Regions from separate parts of the Homo sapiens genome. Here regions 1 and 2 are each linked to region 3. Evidence: promoter capture Hi-C in human tissues and cell types (Jung and others, 2019). All regions are on one chromosome and are shown on one strand. The core of a region is centred on a gene start or on the middle of the fragment in contact, and the rest is flanking DNA. Distances in the headings are between cores, read along the strand shown. Region 1 overlaps NFASC (neurofascin). Region 2 holds the start of CDK18 (cyclin dependent kinase 18). Region 3 holds the start of TMCC2 (transmembrane and coiled-coil domain family 2).

Evidence for each region. Contacts are between HindIII fragments. The study calls those that stand out against the background at their distance.
Region 1: a fragment that was not itself captured here is called in contact with the fragment with the promoter of TMCC2 in region 3 in 4 of the 25 tissues and cell types used here (IMR-90 fibroblasts, aorta, dorsolateral prefrontal cortex and 1 more).
Region 2: a contact is called between the fragment with the promoter of CDK18 here and the fragment with the promoter of TMCC2 in region 3, in 1 of the 25 tissues and cell types used here (hippocampus).

The regions. Positions count from the first base shown.
Region 1 is chr1:204,961,420-204,964,990 of GRCh38, forward strand. All of the region lies in intron 8 of NFASC (neurofascin), which reads left to right. Among named protein-coding and RNA genes, the nearest start is that of CNTN2, 80 kb to the right of the region's middle. The HindIII fragment of the contact is 5,464 bases long and covers 1-3,571 here.
Region 2 is chr1:205,502,751-205,506,394 of GRCh38, forward strand. It overlaps CDK18 (cyclin dependent kinase 18), which reads left to right and starts at 1,919. Exons shown (of 16, transcript NM_212502.3): 1 at 1,919-2,046. The HindIII fragment of the contact is 16,948 bases long and covers 1-3,644 here.
Region 3 is chr1:205,225,790-205,229,515 of GRCh38, forward strand. TMCC2 (transmembrane and coiled-coil domain family 2) reads left to right here and starts at 2,157. Exons shown (of 5, transcript NM_014858.4): 1 at 2,157-2,982. The coding sequence starts at 2,776. RefSeq lists an enhancer at 1,808-1,947 and a silencer at 2,078-2,257. The HindIII fragment of the contact is 10,382 bases long and covers 1-3,726 here.

The DNA of each region.
Region 1 (3,571 bases), core at 555-3,054, 260 kb before region 3:
ACCTCAGGGATGTTCTCCCCACCTCACTGAACCTCTCCCGGCATCCTCACAAGGAGGGCTTTCTGCCAACAGAGACATCTCCAAGATCATAGTGGTGCCCACCTGGGCAGACTCCAGTGACACATGTTGCTGGGTGTGGCCAGGGCCCCTTGGCCCAACTCTTTTGGTCAATGACCTCCTCCCATTTACCACCAACCTCCTGCAGCTTAGCTTCTGCCCAGGCAGCACTTTGCTCTTCCCCGGAGCTCACTAACACTCCTTTCTCTTTAGCTGCTCCAAGAGCTAGCCTGACCCAGAGTCCTGGGAACTGAGGATTTTGATAAGAAGGAGTTGTTCAAAAGATGGCTACAGGACACCACTAATCCTTCTCTCATTTGTTTGAAAATATAGCAGGACCAATTAATTAAAGTTCAAACCTAATTTCTTTAATTTTAAAAAAACCATTACTGTATTATTGCCTTCTTTTGCAGGATTTAACCTTTTTTTCTCCTTTTGTGGGCTGTTTTGTGTTGCTTGTTCTTCACTGAGCGTATTGCCTTTCCAAATATGCCGTGTCTTTCCTTTGCAAAAGACCACTGCTGCCCTCCTCAGTTGTTTTTCTGGCTTTGCATTTGTTTTCTCTCCCCGTTTATGCCTCTGTGACTTCTCCGTGGCCTCCTGTTTGCTCACCCTCTTTTGTTTGTTACAGACCACCCTTATAATGACTCGTCCTTAAGAAACCACCCTGACATGTACAGTGGTGAGTCGCAGCGGTAACCTTGGGAGTAACCTTGCCTGTGCTAACCCCAGTTTGCCTAACTTGACTGATACCACGTCATTAACTCCTGCTGGGTGGCAGCTGGCCCAGCCAGGGTGCCAAGGTGACACCTCCAGAAGGCTGCCTGCCAGGAGGCAGTGTGGGGGTTTGAGGTGGCTCACCTGGTGGTGTGGTCTCCTCTAACAGGCATGCCTCAAGTTGCTGAATTCTCAACAAGTTGTTCAAACCAGGGTAGGACTTCAAAAGAACTTCTTGAAAAGCAGGAACTTTTACTGAAAAAGTAGAAGCTTAGGAATCAAGAATGGATGAAGGGAGACTATCTTAAAATAGGTGAGTTCCATAGTGAAGAGAAAACAGGAAGTCTGGTTCCTATTGGTAGTTGAAAGAACACAGAAAGCTTGTTAGTATGTTCAGTTAACTCTAGATAGGAATTGCCTGCTTTGTAATCTCACCTTAGTTACCGGGAGTACCATTTCACAGTGAGGTCCCGTGTCTCTTTAAAATCCATCTGGGCAATAGGAGTAAGAGTCCAGCTCTGAGTTCTCTTTCAAGATGAGTATAAATGAGGTGAAACCATCCACCGTACCCTCTCACCTAGGCCTCTCTCCTCCTTTGGTAGTATATGCAAATCAAATGCCCACCAGTCCACACTTGCGAGACATGGAACAATTACAATGAGGCATGGTTTTAACTCATGACACAGCTGGTTGCTCAGTCTGATTAATAGGGTAATTGGCTATTTCCACACCTGAGTTACCCCTCACCATGGCTCAAGAATGTCTTATTTTCCCTGAGCAGCCAGAGGCACCATCATTTGCTGGCTCTGGTGAGGCAGCTGGCCCCCATCATTAGTTATGCCTCAGAAGCTGAGGCTGCAGGTCCTCAAGGGACCTCACTGTGGGCTGAAACAGATAGGAAGTGTCTGCACTGTGATGTGCTAATACAAAGGATGATGAGTGACTGGAGAAGGGGATGGGATGAGGGAGCGCGAGCCAGGGAGAGAGGCAAAGGCTCTAACTTGGCACCAAGCAGCTAGAACCACACTGAGATCCTGCCAAAGAGATTCACTACCCAAGGAATCAGGGGACCTTTGTTGGATTCTAAGCATTGTTTGTTTTCAAGATAATGGGGCCAACTACTATTGTGTTAAGAGCCCCAGAGCCCTGGTATGGAATGGGCCTTGTTCTAAATCGGATTCCAGGTAATCTGTTATAGGAAGTATTCTGTAAGCCTGAGTGCATCAGAGCCAGAAGTTCCCTTAGAGACCATCTGGTCTAAGTTCCTCACTTTATGTAAGATAAGCCATACAGGGGAACGTACACATAGAGTTGTTTTATCAATGGAATAAGTTTGAGTGATTCCAGTCACTTAAACCAGTTTGTGACCATTGATCAAACTATTATTGCAAGAGAATGAGTGGGACTTATGAGATCCATCCAGGACTATGAAACAAGCAAAGCTTACAAGAGTTTACCTGGAGATTGACCCCTTGTCCTCAATCCAGGGTAGGACGGAGCTGACCCAAGTATGAAGCTGCTGGAAAGGATATAAAGTCAAAGGGAGACACATTTTGAACAAAAGACAACTAGGCTGATGCTTCTAGCAAGAAATCAAAGGGAAATGGAAGGAAGGAGGATGACTTCTTTCTGGAGTGCAGGCATCTGGACAGAGAGACTTGATGAAAAGTGCCCAGGGCATCTGTCTGTTTGGCTCTGAAATATGGCACGTCTCTTTTGTAGCAGGAGGGCCACCCCATACTTCTATTTTGTTTTAGTGATTTCTAGAGTGGATTGGTATCCTCTGAACACTGCTAGGTGCCCCCTGACCTGCTGAGTGGCAGGAGAATCTGGTCTGAGATTGTAACTTGCCGCTTAGGATTCAGCCAGGTGAGGAGACCAAGTGGTTAAGAGTGTGTGCTCTGAGGTAGACTGCCTTGAATTAAATCCAGGGTCCGGGACATACCATTGAGTGATGCTGAGTAAGTCATTTAGTGTCTCAGAACTTTAATGTTCTCATTTGCCAAATGGATGTATTACCTGTCTCATAGGATTGTTGTGAAGATTAAACAGGAGAATGTGCTTATGGTTCCTAGTATGTGTTGGGCACATTCTCGATACTTAACAAGTGTTACCCATTACTGGTTTTAAAGGGAATGGTTTAGTGTTGACTGTATCCTGGATAGTTCTTCTATGCTTCTGAAATTAAGAAGGACAGACAGAACTTAAAGAGAAGCCAAGGGGCAAAAAGCAGGTGCAATTATAGGAAGAAAGTACCATAGAGGGAGAAATTGTAGGGCAGACCAGAGAAACAAAAGCTGTTCAAATCCTCAGCTGTGCTGAGAACTGCATAAGAAGAAAAGCTCCAACTACTGCATATGAGGTTTGGGTTAAACTTACAGGAGAAATTTCCTGGTACTGAAAGGTATCAAATATTACTAGACAAAGAGTTTTTCCTATCTTCTGGGGTTGTTTGGTCAGCCATTCCTAGAGCAAGAGAGGTGAATGAGATGCCAAGAATCTGGCCCCATGAGTCTCTGGTTCTCAGTTCTGAGAATCGAAAGCAGCAAAGTGGTCTGGATGAGGGATACAGATGCCCCTAAAAGCTGTTTTTGGTAGAGGTCCTCAGATACGTCTGATTCATTGAACTTTCTTGTCCTGCTAACACATAGCACTTGACAGAGGGGGGCAACTAAGGTTGTCAGGAGTCTTGATGTTTCCTCAAAAGAGATGATCAAGAGGCATTTATCGTTGGACCTTTAAGGCCAACATGGTTGAGGCATTGTCATCTCCTGTTGTCTGCTAGCTGACCATATTT
Region 2 (3,644 bases), core at 669-3,168, 280 kb after region 3:
TCAGGACCCAGCACCTGCCTGCCTCTACAGTGTCACCTCCACCCCAGACTTTAAGTTCTGACCTCATGGAACTGTGGGTCCATATTCTGTCACCCCTGCACTCTGCACAAGGGATTACCCCTCCTGGAAAAAACAGGGAAAATCCTTCCTCCTCTCTCTTGTCCCCTCATCCTGTAACCCTCACCTCAAGCAGAATAGCTCCTCCCAGGCATCCGTAACACTAAGCCTCCTCCTATAGCATCCTAACTGTTTGCTTCCCTGCCGCATTACACCAAGAGCTTCTTGAAGGCAGGGACTGGGTTATACTCATCTTATGTGCCCAGAGCCCTGGCTATCATTTGGCACATAAGAGATGTTGAGAAAGTGTTTGTGGAGACCTCTTGACTTCACCCCCCTAGTTCCTTGAAATTCTACCCTTTGGCCCCACTCTCTCTAATCCGCCAGTAAACAGTTCCTTGGCCATAGTCCTTCTCCCTTTCCCTCCCTGCCCCTTCCAAACCTCTTTATGGCCTCCTGCTCCCCAGGCTTCTCACCATCCACTGGACTACAGAGCCAGGAGGTTGCTGCACACCTAAAGGCTCTGGATCCATGCACCCCGACAACACTTGGCAGTTTCATTTTTAGGAAGTGCTGTGCCCAGGAAATCTGCATGCCTTGGCAGAGAAAGCGAGGTAAAAAAAAAAAAAAGAGTTGGGAGGCCCTCTGTGAGATGTCAACTACCCACAGGTCACTTTCATGCATGGGCCCAGTGTCTTCCTTCATTCTCCTGTCTCCAGCTGACAGTGGGACCTCAGGCCCATGTCTTCCAGAAGGAAACTGTTCTATTCTCAACAACTCACAGTCCCCAGGGAAAGGGTTCAGGTAGAAGCACATGTACACTGTGGAGCACCCCCTCCTAAGGAGACTTTCCCTGTGGGAGACCCCAGACTGCAGCAGCCAAGCCCTCTGGTAGGGCAGGGGACACAGACTGCCTTGATGAGGTGCCATAGAGCCAAGGCACACCTCCTCTCCTCACAGCCCTCAGGAGGAAGCAGAGATGAGAGGGGCCTGGCGGTGGGGCACTGTGCCCTTCACCCCCATCCCCAGATTTTTGTTTTGTTTTTTTTTTTGATCCTTGAAGTCAGATGATGTGGGTGCAATGGCCATTGGCCTGAGTTCTAATCATGGCTCGCCATGAACTCTTGTGGCACTTTAGGCCAGTTCAATTGCTTTGCTGGGCCTCAGTTTCCCCTTCTGTAAAATGAGAGTGCCACTAGCTGAACTAGCCATTCTGTAACCCTTCTTGGATGATTCTCAAATATCCTGTGGAGTTTAATTCCAAAAGGACAAGTTGAATTATCCTTCGGGGAGGGAAATGTGAATGATGGCTGGTAACAAGGGCTTCATTCAGGTCCTGGAGAGGTGGGAACTTTGTCCGGAAAGGTAAGTGACAAGTCCCACTGGATAGGGTAGAAGGGGAGCCCGAGGGCTACTATTGTCAAGAAAATGACCACCAAAATCTGTCCATGCACATTCGTTCCTAGGGCGCCAGGTACAGGGAGGTACCTAGGAGAGGTAGGAGCACCGCTTTTAGAGACAGGCAGGCACTCTCAGTGTACCCCTGGCGCCTTGGTGTCCTGGGGTGATCCAGTCCAGAAGGCCTCATCCCCTAGCCAAGGCTCTCAGGGCCGGTTTTAGAAACGAAACAGGAAGAGGCACTTGGACCCTGGTTCCCAGAGTGGGAGAAAGGGGTGGGCACCCGGGCAGAGGGAGCCCTGGGGATTGGTAGCGGCTGTGGGCAGGGCGGGAGGGCCGGGGGCGGAGTCAACTTGTACATGTGAAAAACTCTGGCGGGGGCCGGGCATTTTCCTTCCTCCTCCTCCTCCTCCTCCTCCTCCCTCCTCTTCCCCACCTTCCTCCACTCCCTCCCTTCCCCTCCCCTTCTACCTCCTCCTCGGCCAGCTCAGGTTGCAGCTTCTCTGGGGAACTGCTCACCTTTCCGGAGCAGGGGAAGCTGCCCCGTGCCCGGGAGGGAGCGGGCGCACCGCGGCCCCCAGGACACGCGCTGTGAGTCCCGCGGGCGGTGCGCCTGGGAGGAAGGGGGAGGTCGGAGGAGCGGGCACCGCGGCGCCGGGTATAAGGAGCAAAGGTAAGCGGAACGGCTCTTAAAGGCGCAGTTTTGCTTTTGCCCTGAGGCGAGAGGTTGGAGGGAAATACCGGAGCGGCGAGGGGAGAGCAGAGATCACGAGGCGTGATCTGTGTGATACTGTGTTGTGTGTTGAGGGGTGGGGGGTGCCCTCGAAAGGCCACTCGTAAGTTCCAGGTGCTTGAGAGGGAGGGTTATTTTGCAATCTCAGACCCCGCGCCCCCTTAGGGAGTCTCCATCTGGGATCACTTTGGCCCCTGGGCTCCCGTCTGAACCCTACAAAGCAAAGTTTTCCACCCAGTCCGGAACCAGGCGCTTTCTAAGCTCCCTTCATTCTGGGAAGGGCAAGGGTCAGGAGTCTCCAGGGACCAAAGGACCCGAGAGTGTGGGGCCACATCGCTGCCTTGAAGGGCTTCCTGGGCTCTGGTGAACTTTCCAGAGCGGCAGGCAGGGGGTGGGAGGCCGGAGCCCTGGGAAGAACGTGGAAGGACACGTGAAGCCCTGCAGGTCCCAGTTCTGGGGGAGGCAGGGGTCTGGGGAATGCTGCTGCTTCTCTCTTTCCACCCCGGAAGACCAAAGGGGCAGTGCCCCCCTCCACCCCTCATCAACAGGCGACAGAGGGTTAATGCAGCAGAGGGAAAGGAGGCTGGGTGGGGCCGGGGGGAGTGGGCGGTGACCTGTTGGGCTAAGGAGATGTGCCTTGAGGATTCTGCTGTAGTTGAGGGACACCATCAGGAATCTGAAATCCAAAATCGGGTCTGGACTGGAGGCCTCTGTTTTCGCCCTGTGGGGGGCGGGGATTCCCTGAAGGTGTCTGCAGACCTTGTGCTGGGTGGGAGTTGGGCTGCAGAAACAGTGAGGGGTTTTCTGTGCTGCAGGGTCAGCACCCTCCTAGGCACCAGCCCTGCCTCTCTTCATTCTCTCTGGGCACCTCCCGGCAGTCGGGGTGGGAGGATTGACACTGTGGGAGTGAGAGGCCCTGGAACCTCTTCCGCGCTATCTGCTACTGTCTCCCCTTCTTCCCCACCCCTAGCCCAGCCCTCGGCAGTTCCCCAGCTGTAGCCTGGGCCCTGTGACTCACTAACACCACCGGCTTGCCCCTCCTGTGTCAGCACCCAGTGAGCTTCGGCATGTTCGCGTGGCATTCCCCACCCGGGCATGGGCATGCAGCACATTCCTGGACACGGGCCTGAGAGGATGCCTGGAGCGCCTGGTGGACTGGCACGTCCTCAGAGATCCCCTGCCTTTAGCCTGGCCTTGGGAGGGGCCTGGGAAAACGGTGCTGAGGGTGCTGAGGGTCGGTGGAGTACAGGGCGACACTGGCTCCAGGTCCGGGTTTGCATCCTGAAGGCGTTCCAGAGAGAGGGTCACCTTGCCACAGCAAAGCTGCTATCTCGGGTTACCCTTTCCCAGCCACCTCTTGTGCAGCTGAGGAGGCTGTGGGGCTGACCCCTCCCCCACCCTTAATCTGGGGTGTACCTGACCATTGGGTTCCCAGGACTCTCCCCACTGGGTCCCC
Region 3 (3,726 bases), core at 907-3,406:
ATGTGCAACACTTCTGAAACTGGATGACATCTGTGGTTATAGCTATGGCCCTCATTCTTTGCTAGGCAATGTCCAAGTGCTTTACATATATTACCCAACACCCTGTATGGTAGGTACTGTCATTATCCCTACTTCCAAATAATTCAGAAACTGGAGCATGAAGAGGTTAGATAACGTGTCCCCACTCACATGGTCAGTGAAGAGCAGAGCTAGGATTTGTCCCCTATCTGGCCATAGAGCCTGAGCTCTTAACCATTATGCTATGATGCCTCTCCAAAATGGAATGTAAAGTATTAGCTGATTTTATGAAACACACCACAGACTTTTTTGCTGACCTGAATCACACCTTGCAAATATGACGACAAGTAGAAAATGTGGCTGTCATGCTGTATGTATATGATAATATAAAAATCAAACTTAAGACCAACTTTTATCTAGTATAGAAATGAGGCATAATTCAAAATTATAATGCTCTCTGCTTCCTTAAACGAAACCAAATCCCTTCCTTAAACCAAATCCCTTCACTTTCCTTCGGCTTCGAGTCAGGTCATGAACATGTGTCAATGCATGCTCACCATTTGCTGGCCACCGCGTGCCCCTCAAGACTTGCTCAGGGTCTTTGGGGCCGCTGCACTTATCTGGGCCAAGTCAGGCAGGGAGCAGTATATTCCTCTGCTTGAAACCTTGCACCATGGGAACCTGCCCCCACCGGTTCTGTCTAGTCCTGCCCACGGTCTACACTGGCATCCTGCCATCCCCTCACCATTGAAAATGCTAAATAAAGGCTTATAGCTTTGTGTTTCCACATTGTGCTCGATTCTTTGTGGTAGATGTGGGGGGTGGTTCCACATTCCCAGCCCATCCTAAATTCCTATCTTCTAAAAGTGGAGCTGCCTAGTTTAGAAAGTAGCTGCTTGGCTGAAGTAAATTCTTAACAAATTAGTCTCTTCTAGGATACACATTAAAATGAGTGGTTGGAATGGGAAGAAGACAGAACAGAAAGTCAAGAAACTCCGACTAGTGAGACTGAAGTGAGGCTACAATGGCATGATGGGTGCGAAAGAGATTGGTAAACTGTAAAATCCTTTAGAGACCGTGTGGCCCCTTCACTGTCTAGGCCAGTGGTTCTCAAAGGGTAGTGTGTGTCAGAATTACCTGGAGGGCTTGTCAAAACACAGATTTCTTGGCTCACTACTTCTGATTCTCTAGGTCTGGCTGGTGGCCAAGAATTTGCATTTCTATCAAGTTCCCGTGTGATGCTGAAGTTGCTAGTCCAAGGATCACAATTTGTGAACCACTGGTTGCTGGATGAGTAAAATCCATTGTGTCCACAGGAGGCATACAATAGACACTCAGATGGGGTTGTTATTATTACTACTCTCCATATCTTGGTAACCCCAACGTTTGCTCTCTTCTGCTTCCAGATTACTCAGCACAGTTTGGCTGAGATTTATGCAAAGAGAGACAGCATTCCCTTTCCACACATCTATATGTAGCAACCTCCTGCCATTAATACCCTTTCTTATTTAAAAGCTGCTTCACAGTTTGTAAGGAACTCTCACATACGTTATTGTGTTTTTATATGAAATTCTTCCCAATTTCTGAGCATAAATTATGCCAAGTAAAGTCTCATTAAGAAATAATGCACTTAAAGCGGGGGACGGGGCGATGAGGAGAGAACGCCCCCTCCCCTTGGCATTTGCAGCTCTGAATGTAGGCATAGATTTAACTCAGACCAAGTATCCTAGAGGGGATAGGTGTCTCCCTTATGGCTAGAAGGTGCAAAGTTAAGAGCCCCAAAAAGCAGTGATAATAAACATCCCTCTTGTGCTCCTTCTCGCCAAATAAAGCGAATGGGTGGAGGAAATCCTGGGCGAGCCCTCCTCGGCAGGGTCCCTCAAGCTGGAGCCGAAACTGCGACTCCCACGCCCGCCGCCCCCGCCCCTGAACTGCAGCCCGCTCTCTGCAATGCAAAAACGCAGCAGCATCGTCCTCCAGCCCTCTCCTGGGGGATCGCACGGTGCAACCAACCCCAAAAACGAAGCTGCGCGACGCCCCCTCAGCCCCGCGGGCTTCCCATTGGCCGGTTGCCGCTGTCACTCCCTCCTAGCCTCGCCTTCCCGCTCCCGGGCGGAGGCAGCCGGGCGGGGTAGGTTGCGCGCTCGCCGCGGGCTCGGGCCGCGGTCGCGGCTTTGCGGCAGGCTGCGCGTCAGGCGGGGAGCGGGGCGCGCGGGCCGGGGAGGGGGCCGGGCGCGCTGCGGGCTCCGCGGCCGGACCATGCGGGGCAGGGGCCGGTTGCAGGGCCGGGGGCTGCAGCCGGCGCCGATGGCGGCCGACTAGGACCTGCCCGGCCGGCTGCCCCGCGCCCCGCCTCGCCCCGCAGCCCGGCCGGCCGGGAGGGATGCGCTGTGCCGCCCAGCTCCTCTCCGTCCTGCCCATGCCCTGAAGCAGAAAGTTTGGGGGCCGGGGGTTGTCTCCCTTCTCCCTCCTGCAATGACTGCCCAAGGACTCTTGCTGCCCAGCCTCGACTGTGACCTGTCTTCGCTCCCCAGGTCGAAATGAACTATTCCAAGCTATAACCAAGGCTCCCCCTTCTCGCCCCTCCCTCACCCGCCTTTAAGAATTTTTTTTTTAATTCAAGAAATTGTGGTCTGCCATCTCCCCTCCTTGTTAATAATTTAGACCCCAGGCCTCATATGAATATAAGAGGGGGTGCGGTCTTCCCCAAGACGGCGCGCTGGAAGGACAGATTCCCCTTGCCGACCCACATACACCATGAAGAGGTGCAGATCGGACGAGCTGCAGCAACAACAGGGCGAGGAGGATGGAGCTGGGCTGGAAGATGCCGCTTCCCACCTGCCGGGCGCGGACCTCCGGCCTGGGGAGACCACGGGTGCTAACTCTGCTGGCGGGCCAACTTCAGACGCCGGCGCTGCCGCGGCGCCCAACCCAGGTCCCCGAAGCAAGCCTCCTGATTTAAAGGTGAGCGCAGACCATCCCCCCGGCAAGCCCAGCCCGCGACTTAGCTCTCGCCACCCCACGCAGAAGTGCTTTAACAGGATAAAAGTGAGGGGGGAAGCCAGGCAAAGGTCAGAGAGGATGAGCGGATGCTTTGCTGGCACCCCAGGGGGGACGTCAGGTACCATTTATGCCTCTGTCTTTCAGCTCCGTGTCAGGTCTCTGTGTTTGTTCCCCATTATTCAGCAAGCGTTTTAGTGACTCACCCATCCGAGATTGTTTGAATAATGTGTGAAGTGTTATTCGCAGACAAAGGGCTGGAGAAATCCAAGATGCTAACCAAAAAGTGGACAGCAGGTGACCATTAGTTTTCCTTGCTGAGTAAGTCTCTACCCATTGGGATCTTTGTGTGTGTGTGTGTGTGTGTGTGTGTGTGTGTGTGTGTGTGTGTATGTGTGTGAGACGGAGTCTCGTTCTGTCGCCCAGGCTGGAGTGCAGTGGCGCGATCTCGGCTCACTGCAACCTCCACCTCCTCGGTTCAAGCGATTCTCCTGTCTCAGCCTCCAGAGTAGCTGGGATTACAGGCACCCGCCACCACGCCCGGGTAATTTTTGTATTTTTAGTAGAGACGGGGTTTCGCCATGTTGGCCAGGCTGGTCTTGAACTGACCTCAGGTGATCTACCCGCCTCGGCCTTCCTAAGTGCTGGGATTACAGGCGTGAGCCACCGTGCCGGGCCCCATTGGGATCTTTGAGCGCTTTCCTGGAT